4 separate regions of the Homo sapiens genome follow, and all the other regions are linked to region 1. The links are contacts of gene promoters, found by promoter capture Hi-C in human tissues and cell types (Jung and others, 2019). All regions are on one chromosome and are shown on one strand. Each heading gives the region's core, a stretch centred on a gene start or on the middle of the fragment in contact. The rest is flanking DNA. Distances are from core to core; before and after follow the strand shown.

What was found. The method cuts DNA at HindIII sites, captures the fragments that hold promoters and counts their contacts. A contact is called where the count stands out against the background at its distance.
Region 2: a contact is called between a fragment that was not itself captured here and the fragment with the promoter of CHAC1 in region 1, in 6 of the 25 tissues and cell types used here (IMR-90 fibroblasts, adrenal gland, lymphoblastoid cells and 3 more).
Region 3: a fragment that was not itself captured here is called in contact with the fragment with the promoter of CHAC1 in region 1 in 2 of the 25 tissues and cell types used here (pancreas and spleen).
Region 4: the fragment with the promoter of INO80 here is called in contact with the fragment with the promoter of CHAC1 in region 1 in 2 of the 25 tissues and cell types used here (lymphoblastoid cells and mesenchymal stem cells).

Annotation. Positions count from the first base shown.
Region 1 is chr15:40,952,106-40,954,832 of GRCh38, forward strand. CHAC1 (ChaC glutathione specific gamma-glutamylcyclotransferase 1) reads left to right here and starts at 1,366. Exons shown (of 3, transcript NM_024111.6): 1 at 1,366-1,709; 2 at 2,123-2,158. The coding sequence starts at 1,479. RefSeq lists an enhancer at 575-1,168 and a silencer at 840-1,099. The HindIII fragment of the contact is 19,989 bases long and covers 1-2,727 here.
Region 2 is chr15:41,165,775-41,168,501 of GRCh38, forward strand. No RefSeq gene overlaps it. Among named protein-coding and RNA genes, the nearest start is that of INO80, 51 kb to the left of the region's middle. The HindIII fragment of the contact is 6,382 bases long and covers 1-2,727 here.
Region 3 is chr15:40,785,631-40,788,357 of GRCh38, forward strand. All of the region lies in intron 1 of DNAJC17 (DnaJ heat shock protein family (Hsp40) member C17), which reads right to left. Among named protein-coding and RNA genes, the nearest start is that of C15orf62, 17 kb to the left of the region's middle. The HindIII fragment of the contact is 6,259 bases long and covers 1-2,727 here.
Region 4 is chr15:41,114,969-41,117,695 of GRCh38, forward strand. It overlaps INO80 (INO80 complex ATPase subunit), which reads right to left and starts at 1,312. Exons shown (of 36, transcript NM_017553.3): 1 at 1,005-1,312. RefSeq lists enhancers at 174-954, 580-629, 710-759, 810-889, 955-1,734 and 2 more and a silencer at 990-1,259. The HindIII fragment of the contact is 26,384 bases long and covers 1-2,727 here.

The DNA.
Region 1 (2,727 bases), core at 116-2,615:
GCCTCTGCTAACTGTTTAGGTATATTCTTCCAGATTATTTATTACACGAATACTTTTTGTTTTTAAAGAAATAGCTTTGTACTATACACACTGTTGTGCAAGTTTCCCACTTATATCTGCGACACCTTCGGAATGAATATGTGAAGTGTGAAGATCACGTTTAGTTTAAATATTGAATTAGAATCGAATGAGAAGCCATGTTGCACATTGCCCCTGCCAGCCATCTCCTGGCCAGTTTAGAGAGAAGGCCTTCAGCTGCCTCTGTTTCCCTTTTACAGTCAGTGACATCCCCTGAGGGCAGTCCCTTGCTGCGTATTGGGTCAACCCCCGGCGGCCTGTGGACTCGGCTGGGAGGCCAGAAGCCGAGGGAGAAGACCAGTAGCTGGCCATAGTCTTGTGGGGGCCTCACTGGGCCCTCCTTGCCCGCTGCTCCCGGAACCTTGTGCCTATGGATTAATCATTGCTGCAAAATCTCACGTCCAGGAAGAATTAAACCCATCGCCTTGGGGGCAAGACTAGCCTGGCTTTTGCATCTTTATAGCCTTTCTCCGCAGGTGCAGCCACCACCTCCAAAGTGACTGCCGGTCGGTCCAAGCGCTCTAACAGGCTCTTCCCCGAGCCTACCTGGGCTCGAGGGGTCCCACACCTGGTCCGGGGCGTAGCCCATGTGAGGCCTGCAAGCTCCGGGCGCCTGGCCTACCTAACTCAGCCCCGCAGTCTCTGCAGAACCCCCTGCAGCCCCGTGGCCCAGTTTCTCCATTTGCTCACAATGGCCAACGGCGTGAGGCACTTGAGCGGAATGCGGACGGTGCCTCCGACAGCTTTCCCGCAGTGCATGATCTCAGGAGGGGCCCCAGAGACGGAAGTTTACGACGCCCAGAGCGCTCCTTCTGGACGTGCCCTGGACTCGACTTGGGACTGAGTCTGTGCCGCCTAGGCTGGCAGGGACTCGGCCAGATGCACTAGCGGCAAGGCTGGGCTGACACCGCCTGGGACTCGCTCGCCGTACCTCCAAGGGGCCCAGGTCATGAGGGGGCGGCTGGGGAGACGCCCGCCCGGTGCCCGCCCTGGGCCCGGCGGGTGCCCCCTGCCCGCCGCCTGACGCAATCCGAGGCGCCCTTGCTGCATGCCGGCGCTGGAGAAACCTCCCCTGCCGTTGCATCACTCCTGCCAGGTTTGCCACAGAGGTGGAGCTGAACCAATCAGCGGGCGCGCTGGGCCCGCGGCGCGGTTAAGTGAGAAGCAGAATCCGAAGTTGATTGGCCAAAAGGGGATTTGCCCCACCCCAATCACCGCGGCAGCTGGCCGCGGTGGGCGTGGTCTCCCGGCAAGAAGGTTTAAAGGGCGCCTCCATGGGGGGCGCTCAGCTGGAGCTACCGAGCGGTGCCAGGCCAGGTGTGTGCGTCCGTCGGTCTTTCCGTGCCCACGCCGGAGACCAGCCCCGGAGGCCGCCTGGGCCTATCCCTGTGCCAGGCACCATGAAGCAGGAGTCTGCAGCCCCGAACACCCCGCCCACCTCGCAGTCCCCTACGCCGTCCGCTCAGTTCCCCCGAAACGACGGCGACCCTCAAGCGCTGTGGATTTTCGGGTACGGCTCCCTGGTGTGGAGGCCCGACTTCGCCTACAGCGACAGCCGTGTGGGCTTCGTGCGCGGCTACAGCCGCCGTTTCTGGCAGGGAGACACCTTCCATCGGGGCAGCGACAAGATGGTGAGCATCCAACCGTGCCCAGGGGAGTGAGGGGGTTGGGGGCGGGATACTGGGCGCCAGTGCCCTGGAATGTCCGGGGCTCTCTGGGCCAATAGAAAGAAATGTGTAAACCTGTGTCTGGGGTTTGTGGCTCATTTAAATGTATGTGCCCAGTGCATCACTGTGATGGCTGGAGTCTGTGAACCTGTGGATCCCTGTGTTGATCACCAACTGGGACCACTGACATGTCAGTGTTTCTGGACGTTTCTCCTACATCCGTGCATCGCTCCCCCACCTTCCCCTGCATGAATGGGACTCAGCATGCAGAGTGGGGCACTTGGAGGCCCGGGTCAGCGGGATTGATAAAGGTTTCCTTGCTGATGGCAGAGCTGATTTCTAACTTGTCTATTTCAAAATATTTCTTCCCTCCCTAGCCTGGCCGTGTGGTGACGCTCCTTGAAGATCATGAGGTAAGTGCCCGAATCATGAAGGGGAACCCTGGCCCAGTGTGAAGGGGGACCAGCAGAGAGAGCTCATAGGCTCTTGGCTGCAGGCTAGCTCTGTCTGATGCTTCTCTGGCAGAGTAGAAACGTGTTCTAGCTCAGTGCTTCTCACCAAATCACATGAGGATCTTGTTAGAATGCAGATTTTAGTTCAGTAGCATGAGAATGGGTCCTGAGACACAGCATTCCTAACTAGCTTACAGGTGATGCCACCACATCCTGGACCACACTTTGAGGAGGAATCCTGTCTTCCCTGGTACTAGACCACTTTGTCAACTGTTTTTTTTTTTTGTTGTTGTTGTTGTTGTTTTGTTTGTTTGTTTTTGAGACAGAGTCTTGCTCTGTTGCCCAGGCTGGAGTGCAGTGATGCAATCTTGGCTCACTGCAACATCTGCCTTCCAGATTCAAGCGATTCTCCCACCTCAGCCTCCCGAGTAGCTGGGATTACAGGCATGCGCTACCACACTCAGCTAATTTTTGTATTTTTAGTAGAGACGGAGTTTCACCATATTGGCCAGGCTGGTCTGGAACTCCTG
Region 2 (2,727 bases), core at 97-2,596, 210 kb after region 1:
TGACCACTGTTTGGTTGTGGGAGATGAAGACATAGTCCCTCACAGACTGTCGGCTGGAGTCCTTGGTTCTCTGTCGGGCCGAATCCTCCCAAAAGTATTCTCCCAACATGGCAACCAGAACAAGTGATCTGACAGAAAGAGTGCACCCAAGATGGAAGCCATAGTATTAGGCCTTTTAGAAGCAAGGAAAGTATATACCAAGATTCTGGGAAGATGGCAGGGTGGTAACGGTGGCATACTTTCTAGATCTTCTCAAATCCCCATGTAAAAACAGAATAATTAGAGGACAAAACTCCAAACCCATGAACAATATTTACAACATACTGGGTGATGAAGTAACTCATAAACCTGAAATTGCAAAGAGGTGGGGACAACCCAAGAGATACTGACAACCATGTGGGAAAAACAGTAGAGGGAAGCAATGGGGTATCTGACAGACCTAAGAAGAAAATTGGTATTCACTAGAGAGTGTTAAGCGCCAATTTGAGAACAACAGCTGAAACCAAAAGGGGTTTTTTCACTCCAATAGCAATTGCATGAAAGGATCCCACAGTCTGAAGGTATACCCAGGCTTGAACAGTCTAGACCCTATAAGCTCTGTATAATAACCAACCATGGATCCCTTCCAGGACAAGTTCACACACTGGGGAGAAACTTCTAGAAATGGAACAAAAACTGAGCAGGGTAGGGAAAACAGAAAGGAAAGAGAGATAAAAGTACTAGGGAAGAAGACAAAGCCAAGAAATCTCAGAAAGCAAATAACTGTGATTTTAACACTACACAAAAACAACAAAATAGGAAGCTCTGTGAAGTTAAAAAATTAATTGAGCCTAGCCTGATGTGGTGGCTCACACCTGTAATGCCAGCACTTTGGGGAGCCAAGGCAGGAAAACTGATTGAAGCCAGGAGTTCTAGACCGCCTGGACAACATAGTGGGAACCTGTCTGCCCCCGCCAAAAAAATTTTTTTTTGAGACGAAGTCTAATTCTTTCACCCAGGCTGGAGTGCAGTGGCGTGATCTCAGCTCACTGCAACCTCCACCTCTGGGTTCAAGTGATTCTCCTGCCTCACCTCCCCAGTAGCTGGGATTACAGGCATGTGTCACCATGCCTGGCCCAAAGAAACCCCTTTTTTTTTTTTTTTTGAGATGGAGTCTTGCTCTATCACCCAGGCTGCAATGGAATGGCGTGATCTCGGCTCACTGCAACCTCCGCCTCCCGAGTTCAAGCGATTCTTCTGCCTCAGCCTCCTGAGTAGCTGGGACTACAGGCGCATGCTACAGTGCCTGGCTAATTTTTGTATTTTTAGTAGAGATGAAGTTTCACCATACTGGCCAGGCTGGTCTCGAACTCCTGACCTTGTGATCCGCCTGCCTCGGCCTCCCAAAGTGCTGGGATTACAGGTGTGAGACACTGCGCCCAGCCCCAAATTTTTTTTTGAAAACTAGCTGGGCATGGTGGCACATGCCTCTAGTCCTAGCTACTTGGGAGGCTCAGGTGGGAAGATTGCTTGAGCCCAGGAAGTCAAGACTGCAGTGAGCAGTGATTATGTCACTGCACTCCAGCCTGGGTGACAGAGTGAGAGTGTCTCAAAATAAAAAAAATAAAAAATAAATAGATGAACACTCTAATATATTGGTGCATAAAAAGCTAAAATGCATTAAGAATATTATGTAAGATGGCCGGGCAGGGCGTCTCATGCCTGTAATCCCAGCACTTTGGGAGGATCACTTGAGGCCAGGAGTTGGAGTCTAGCCTTGGCAGTATAATAAGAACCCCATCTCTAAAAAACAAACAAAAAACTATACAGCATATTTTAAAAATCACACTGTATCTGAAAATGGTGATCCAGAATGACCAACACCAAAACATAGTCTAACAAAATCATTTGACTTGAAAGAAAAAGAGGCCAAGGTGGGCAGTTCGCTTGGGTCCAAGAGTTCGAGACCAGCCTGGGCAACATGGCGAGACTCTGTCTCTACTAAAAATACAAAAAAATAGCTGGGTATGGTGGTGCACGCCTGTGGTCCCAGCTACTGAAGTGGGAGGATCACTTAACCCCAGAGGGTGGAGGTTGCAGTGAGCTAAGATTTCGCCACTGCACTCTATCCTGGGTGATAGAGTGAAACACTGTCTCAAAAAAAAAAAAATTATATCAGTCGGGCGCGGTGGCTCACGCCTGTAATCCCAGCACTTCGGGAGGCCAAGGCAGGTGGATCACCTGAGGTCGGGAGTTCAAGACCAACCTGACCAAGATGGTGAAACCCTGGCTCTACTAAAAATACAAAATTAGCCAGGCGGGGTGGTGCATGCCTGTAATCCCAGCTACTTGGGAGGAGGCAGGAGAATCGCTTGAACCCAGAAGGCGGAGGTTGTAGTGATCTGAGATCAAGCCATTGCACTCCAGGCTAGGCAACAAGAGTGAAACTCTGTCTCAAAAAAAAAAAAAATTATATCTTAGTAAAACCGTTAAAAATAATTTGTGGTTGATATAACTTACAATGAGAGTTCATCAAACTACAAATGAGGTTTCTGGTTTACATAATACTATTCTGATTTTCTTCCTATTTGTCTTCTCCTTCTTGGTCTCTGTGTGTATCTCTTCCTGTTTACTTTTTTTTTTTTTTGAGAGGGAGTCTCGCTCGTCGCCCAGGCTGGAGTGTGCAGTGGCGCAATCTCGGCTCACTGCAAGCTCCGCCACCTGGGTTCACGCCATTCTCCTGCCTCA
Region 3 (2,727 bases), core at 157-2,656, 170 kb before region 1:
CAGCAGGATGCCAATTGGACAGGAATTCAGGAATGGACCCTGGTCCACAGTGGATGCAGGTCAACTCCATTTGAATTCTCTAGGTGGACAGGGCTGGATTTGAGTCTGCTGTGGGGTAGATCTAAAATTCAATCCTGGGTTCACTCCCAGGGTCTCTGAAATACTCTTATTCAAGGGGTAGAAGGGATGGGTAGGTAGCCTGAGATCTTCCAGAGTGGCCTTGAATCAAAACCCAGCTGGCCTAAGAATGTTGGTCAAGTATGTCTGTCTTGATTAACTAGTTATTACTATATTTAACTGTTAAACCTGCCCTGGGCAGGGCCCATCCCTTGGTTTTAGCCTGGAAGACCAGTTTTGACTTTGAACCGGTTGGCCTAGAATTTGGTGCTTTGTACTACAAACTAGATTCCCAGCTTTGTCCAGCCCTCCTGGAGTTGACTGCTGCCTGAAGAATTTCTCACCATGTAAACACAACTCTCCTAAAGCAGGCCTTTGAAAAACCTTCCGGTCTCAATATTGTTTATTATTAAATAATCCTACCTTATGAACAGCTCAAAAGGCTAGATTCAGGGTAAAAATGTACAACAATTATTTTTTATAACTATCACAAAATTGGGAAGGAGAGGAACTTTCAGAAGAACAAGAAATAGAAGGGCCATCCTCTATAATCTTACTCCTTATGATATAGGATAAACAGGACTGCTGAAAGCCAGGTATCCCGGGTTGGAAGCTCCTCCAGAAACTGACTCTGGCCCAGGTCCAGTGGCTCACGCCTGTAATCCCAGCATTTTGGGAAGGTGAGGCGGGAGGATCGCTTGAGCCCAGGAGTTTGAGACCACCCTGGGCAACAGAGCAAGACCCCATCTCTAAAAAGAGAAAGAAAGAAACTGTGTCTGCAGGTGCTGGGATCACTGAGGCAGAGCTGAAGCAGCCACAGCAAGGTGTGGCTTTTCACTTGCAGCTTTTCTTCTTTACCTATAGGTTTCCCCTAAATCCCCTGGTCTCTCTAGCGCTTAGAAACACTTGCATTTCTGAGACTTCACAAAGGATCCAGGTGACAGTTCAAATGTTTCCAACCCAAAGTTCCCCATCCAGATCATGGCTTTTCAGAGGAGAAGCTCTTTCTAAGGCCCAGCCTCAGAAGGACGAAGATCTCAGATAAATGTAAGCTCCGTGAGTACTTCGAACTGCAATTTGCAGAAACTTGGTCTTTCTCCTGATGGCTTTCTAAAAACCTCACTGTCTACCACCCTTTTTCCATCCTAGACTGGTTGAGTTTAATCTGTTTTTGATGTCTCAGGATCATCATCCAGAACATCAACTACTGAATAGTATGACACGTTCTACGGAGAGTGGTGTCAGGCTTTTCATTTGCTTCCCTAGGTGGCGAGGATTTTAAATTCTACTCTTTTAATAGTTTTCCTATTACTTCCTTAGTTGGCCTCTACTAGACTGCCAGATGCCAGCCCTTCCCTAGAAGTGCTGCTCATCTGCTGCTTCTTTTCTGGTATGGTCTAGAGAAACAGATAAGCTGGTTATAACTATACCTTAAATGAGAGCATAAGGGTATAGGAAGGTATGGGGGTTCCCCTTACAAATAAAGTGGATGTACTTAGGAGGCAGGGAGTTCTGCTTCTCCCCAGGGTCCAGAACAGTGAACAGCACCTGGCATTCAGCAGGCACACAATAAATATCTGTTGCATGAATTGGCAAACATTCATTTGTTCTCAACCAAAACACAATCGGAAACCTCAACTATGTCAATTACTTCAGACCCACTGAGGAGCAGAAGGAAGTAGGTGCCATCCAGACCCTAGGAGATCTGACCACTATTTCACAATTTCTCCTCCTCCCTGCTAACACCTCCTCTTAAAAAACCAAGTCTGGGAAAGGGAAGGAATTACTAAAGCAGACTGCCAGGATAACCACAGTGGGAACTAAATGTTACCCCCTCATTGCCCACATCAGACAATGAATAATAAATTGGCAGCCACCCAGCCCTTCCCCGGAAGCTCTATAACCGGTTCTACCACTTTCAGCAACCTGAACCCAGAGCAGGGGAGGAGGGCTGGAAGCTGGGTCTCTAGCCACCTCCACTGGGTTTTGCCGCAAGCACACAGCAGGGCCTCTGACATCCACCTGCCTCCAGTTTCACCTCTTGATGGGGGAAGGAACTCCTGACTCACCCAAAAAAGCTAAGTGCTAAGGGATCCAATAAATACAAAATAGCCATCATTAACTTAAAAGAAAGGTGCCCTACAAAGAAGGGATCATTATTTTTTAAAAGGTTGCTGTCCTTTCTTGTAATAAAGCTTGGAGCCAGGTAAGTAAGTGGTACAAGTAAAGAGGCCGAGGCTGATAGGTTAGACTTAGATAAGGAGGACACAGAGGGAGGCAGCTCTATGTGACAACAAGCACTGAATGGACAAAGCATCCCGGGTAAATCAGCTGGAAACCCACTGCCAGGCCCAGTTCCAGTCACAGGCACAGTGAGTGATAACAGCTGGGGCAGCCACGTCTCCCCAAGCCCGGAGAGGCAGATGCCTCCCCATCCCCTCACTAGCAGGAACCCCAGAGGTATATGACTGCCTGATGTCACACGCAGGAAGCAAACAACAGAGCTCTGGGCACCTGCCTAAAAGTCCCCTCTGGCCAGGCATGGTGGCTGATGCCTGTAATCCTAACACTTTGGTAGGCCAAAGCAAGAGGATCGCCTGAAGCCAGGAG
Region 4 (2,727 bases), core at 62-2,561, 160 kb after region 1:
TATAGTTTCAGAAAATTACTTAATTATACGCTTTAGAAAGCGGAATTTTTTGGTATTTGAATCATATTTCAATAAAGCTATTATTTAATTTAAGTTGCCACTGAAAAGCCACAATAATTTTGTTGTGGAGGAAATAATGAAAGTCACTGACTGGAAAAGTAACCTGTGACGTTAGCCAGGTCAACCTCCAAATTCCTTCCCCCATTTCTAACAAGTACATCAAACTAGAGACAGTGTGTGAATCAAAGAATTCCAGGCACAGTTGGCTGTTAACTAGAATAGTAAGTGGCTGCCTAGGTTCTGTCATTCCTAAACTGTAGGGGGCTTCTAGCCTCGGAGATTACGGAAGTAGTACTTTCCATTAGCGAGCTCAAGAAGGAATGTCAAAATAGGATGACACTTTCCTAGTCGCTATGTAAAAACCTAAAAAACCAGAAGAGGTGTCATCTAGACACTCCCAAGTCTATGCAGGTGTCAGCCTGCCCCCACCCAACACCAGCCAGCAGCGTGCACCATTCAACCGTATCTCAACTTGCCCCTTACAAAATGACACACTAACAAGCCCTTAGATCTCATTTGTTTAAAATGACAGATACACAACCTTCACGGGGTTCCCACTCAAGGCCTTCCAGCCTCCGCCCTGCCCCTGCCCACCCCCAAACCTACACACGTGTTAGCCCGACACCGCCCCACCGGGTCCCACGTGCACCTGGTCTAACACACTCCCCACGTGTGGGCGCCCCACGGGCTTCCTCAGGTGGCTGAGGTCACCGCATGACCCCGGGTCTCCAGAGATATGAAACGGGAAGGACAAGGCCCTAGTCCCTGAGGTCCCAACCCTGCGGGGAGTGTCCACACCCATCCTCCATACTAACCCCAACAAATCCAAGGGCCGGGGGCGACGGCCCCTTTAAGACGCGGCCCAGTTGTCGCCCGCAGAGAGGGGCGCAACAAGACCTACACAACCCCCACTCCGTTCGCCCGCCCACGTCTAGTTGCCTCACCTCGGGCCGCCTGGCCCCGCCGCCGCGACGGCGGCGGAGGGGGGGCGGGGTGCGGGCGGGGTCCGGAGGGGGGGGTCGCCCCGCCGACGGTGGAGCCGCGGTTCGCTCTCTGAGGCCGTGGGACGGTGACTGCGTTGGGCGTGGACGCTCCTAGCTCGCTCCCTCCGCGGCTCCTGGGACCCCAAGATGGCGGCGGCGCTGAGGCGGCTGCGGGCGCTGGGCCGGCGGCGGCGGCGGCCACTTTCACTCACTGAGAGGAGCGGAGCAGGGACACGGGGAGCCATGGCGGGGGGGAGGAGAGGCGCCATAGCCAGGCCAGAACAATCGAGCCGCTACACGGGTGGCTTACCCCCACCCCGCCCACACTCACTGCTCGTCGCCTGCCCGTGGCCACCCGTAGTGCCGCTGCCGTCGGCCTCGCGCAGCTCGCACCCCGCCGCTGCCACCTGACGCCCCGTGCGAACCGGGGTTCGAGGGGAGACCCTGATCCATGCCATCTGAGTACAGATTAGTCGGGACTGGGACTGGCGAAGATTGCCGAAAGGCGGCGGGGAGGAGGAGGAGGATGTCATCGCTACAGTGAGCAAGCAGATCTCGCAGGAGAAAATGTCGCGAGAGCTTTCCAGGCCCGCAACCGCCGATGCAAGGTTACTTTTCCCGGAAGTAACGTCAATCGAAACCGCCCGGGATCCTGGGATATTTGTTCCCGCAGGCTAGAGGTGGGAAGGTGCAGCCAAGTTGATAAGATCTCTTTAGGGGAAGGAGAGGCTCGCAGCTGGTATTTTGTTACTAGTTTCTGACCCCTTTGGATGGGGTTGTAGATTGTCGGGGAAGTGCCTGGTGTGTAGTTCGACTACTATACAGTAATTAGTTTGGGGCTCCCATTTAGACTCTGGGAGCAAGAACGCTATAGGTTGGGTAGGACAGCATAGTTAGATAAGATGTCTACGTGAAGGTTGTGGGATACAAGGACTTGGGAACACGCAGACCTGTTATCGGAAATGCCAGCCTGTTCTCACATCCACACAGTGTGCCTCTGAAAAGCGAATAATTGCTTTTACCTGTGCCAATTCTACAATTTGAGTCCACTGCCACCCACATTTACTAAACTTGGGGTCTCGCTATGTTGCCCAGTCTACTGGGCTGGTTCCCAGTCTCCTGGCCTGAAGTGATCCTCCTGCCTGGAAGGATCACCTCAGGCCAAACGTCTCAGAGCAGTCCATTAGACTGGTCAACATAGCGAGACCCCGTCTCTACAAAAAAGACAACATAATAAATGTAATCGACCCAACTACCAGGATGTGTGGTGAGAATTGCCTAGGGTAAGGCCTAGGTGTAGATAAGAATTAGAACTTACTGAAAGTTAAATATGCTGTTAATTCAGTTCCTTTGGGTCTCATTCTTTAATCCATTTTAACCTGGCCCTTAGCATTTAACTAAAAAGTACTTTATTAAGGTCATCAAGTAGCCTTCTTGTGCTGAGTTAACTGACCTTTAAAAAGTTAAATTTGTGTCAGGGTGCAGTGCCACACGCCTGTAATCCCAGCACTTTGGGAGGTCAGGTGGTCGAATCACCTGAGGTCAGGAGCTCGAGACCAGCCTGACCAATATGGTGAAACCCCATCTCTACTAAAAATACAAAAATTAGCCGGGCGTGGTGGCGGGTGCCTGTAGTCCAGCTACTTGGGAGCCTGAGGCAGGAGAATCGCTTGAACCTGGGAGG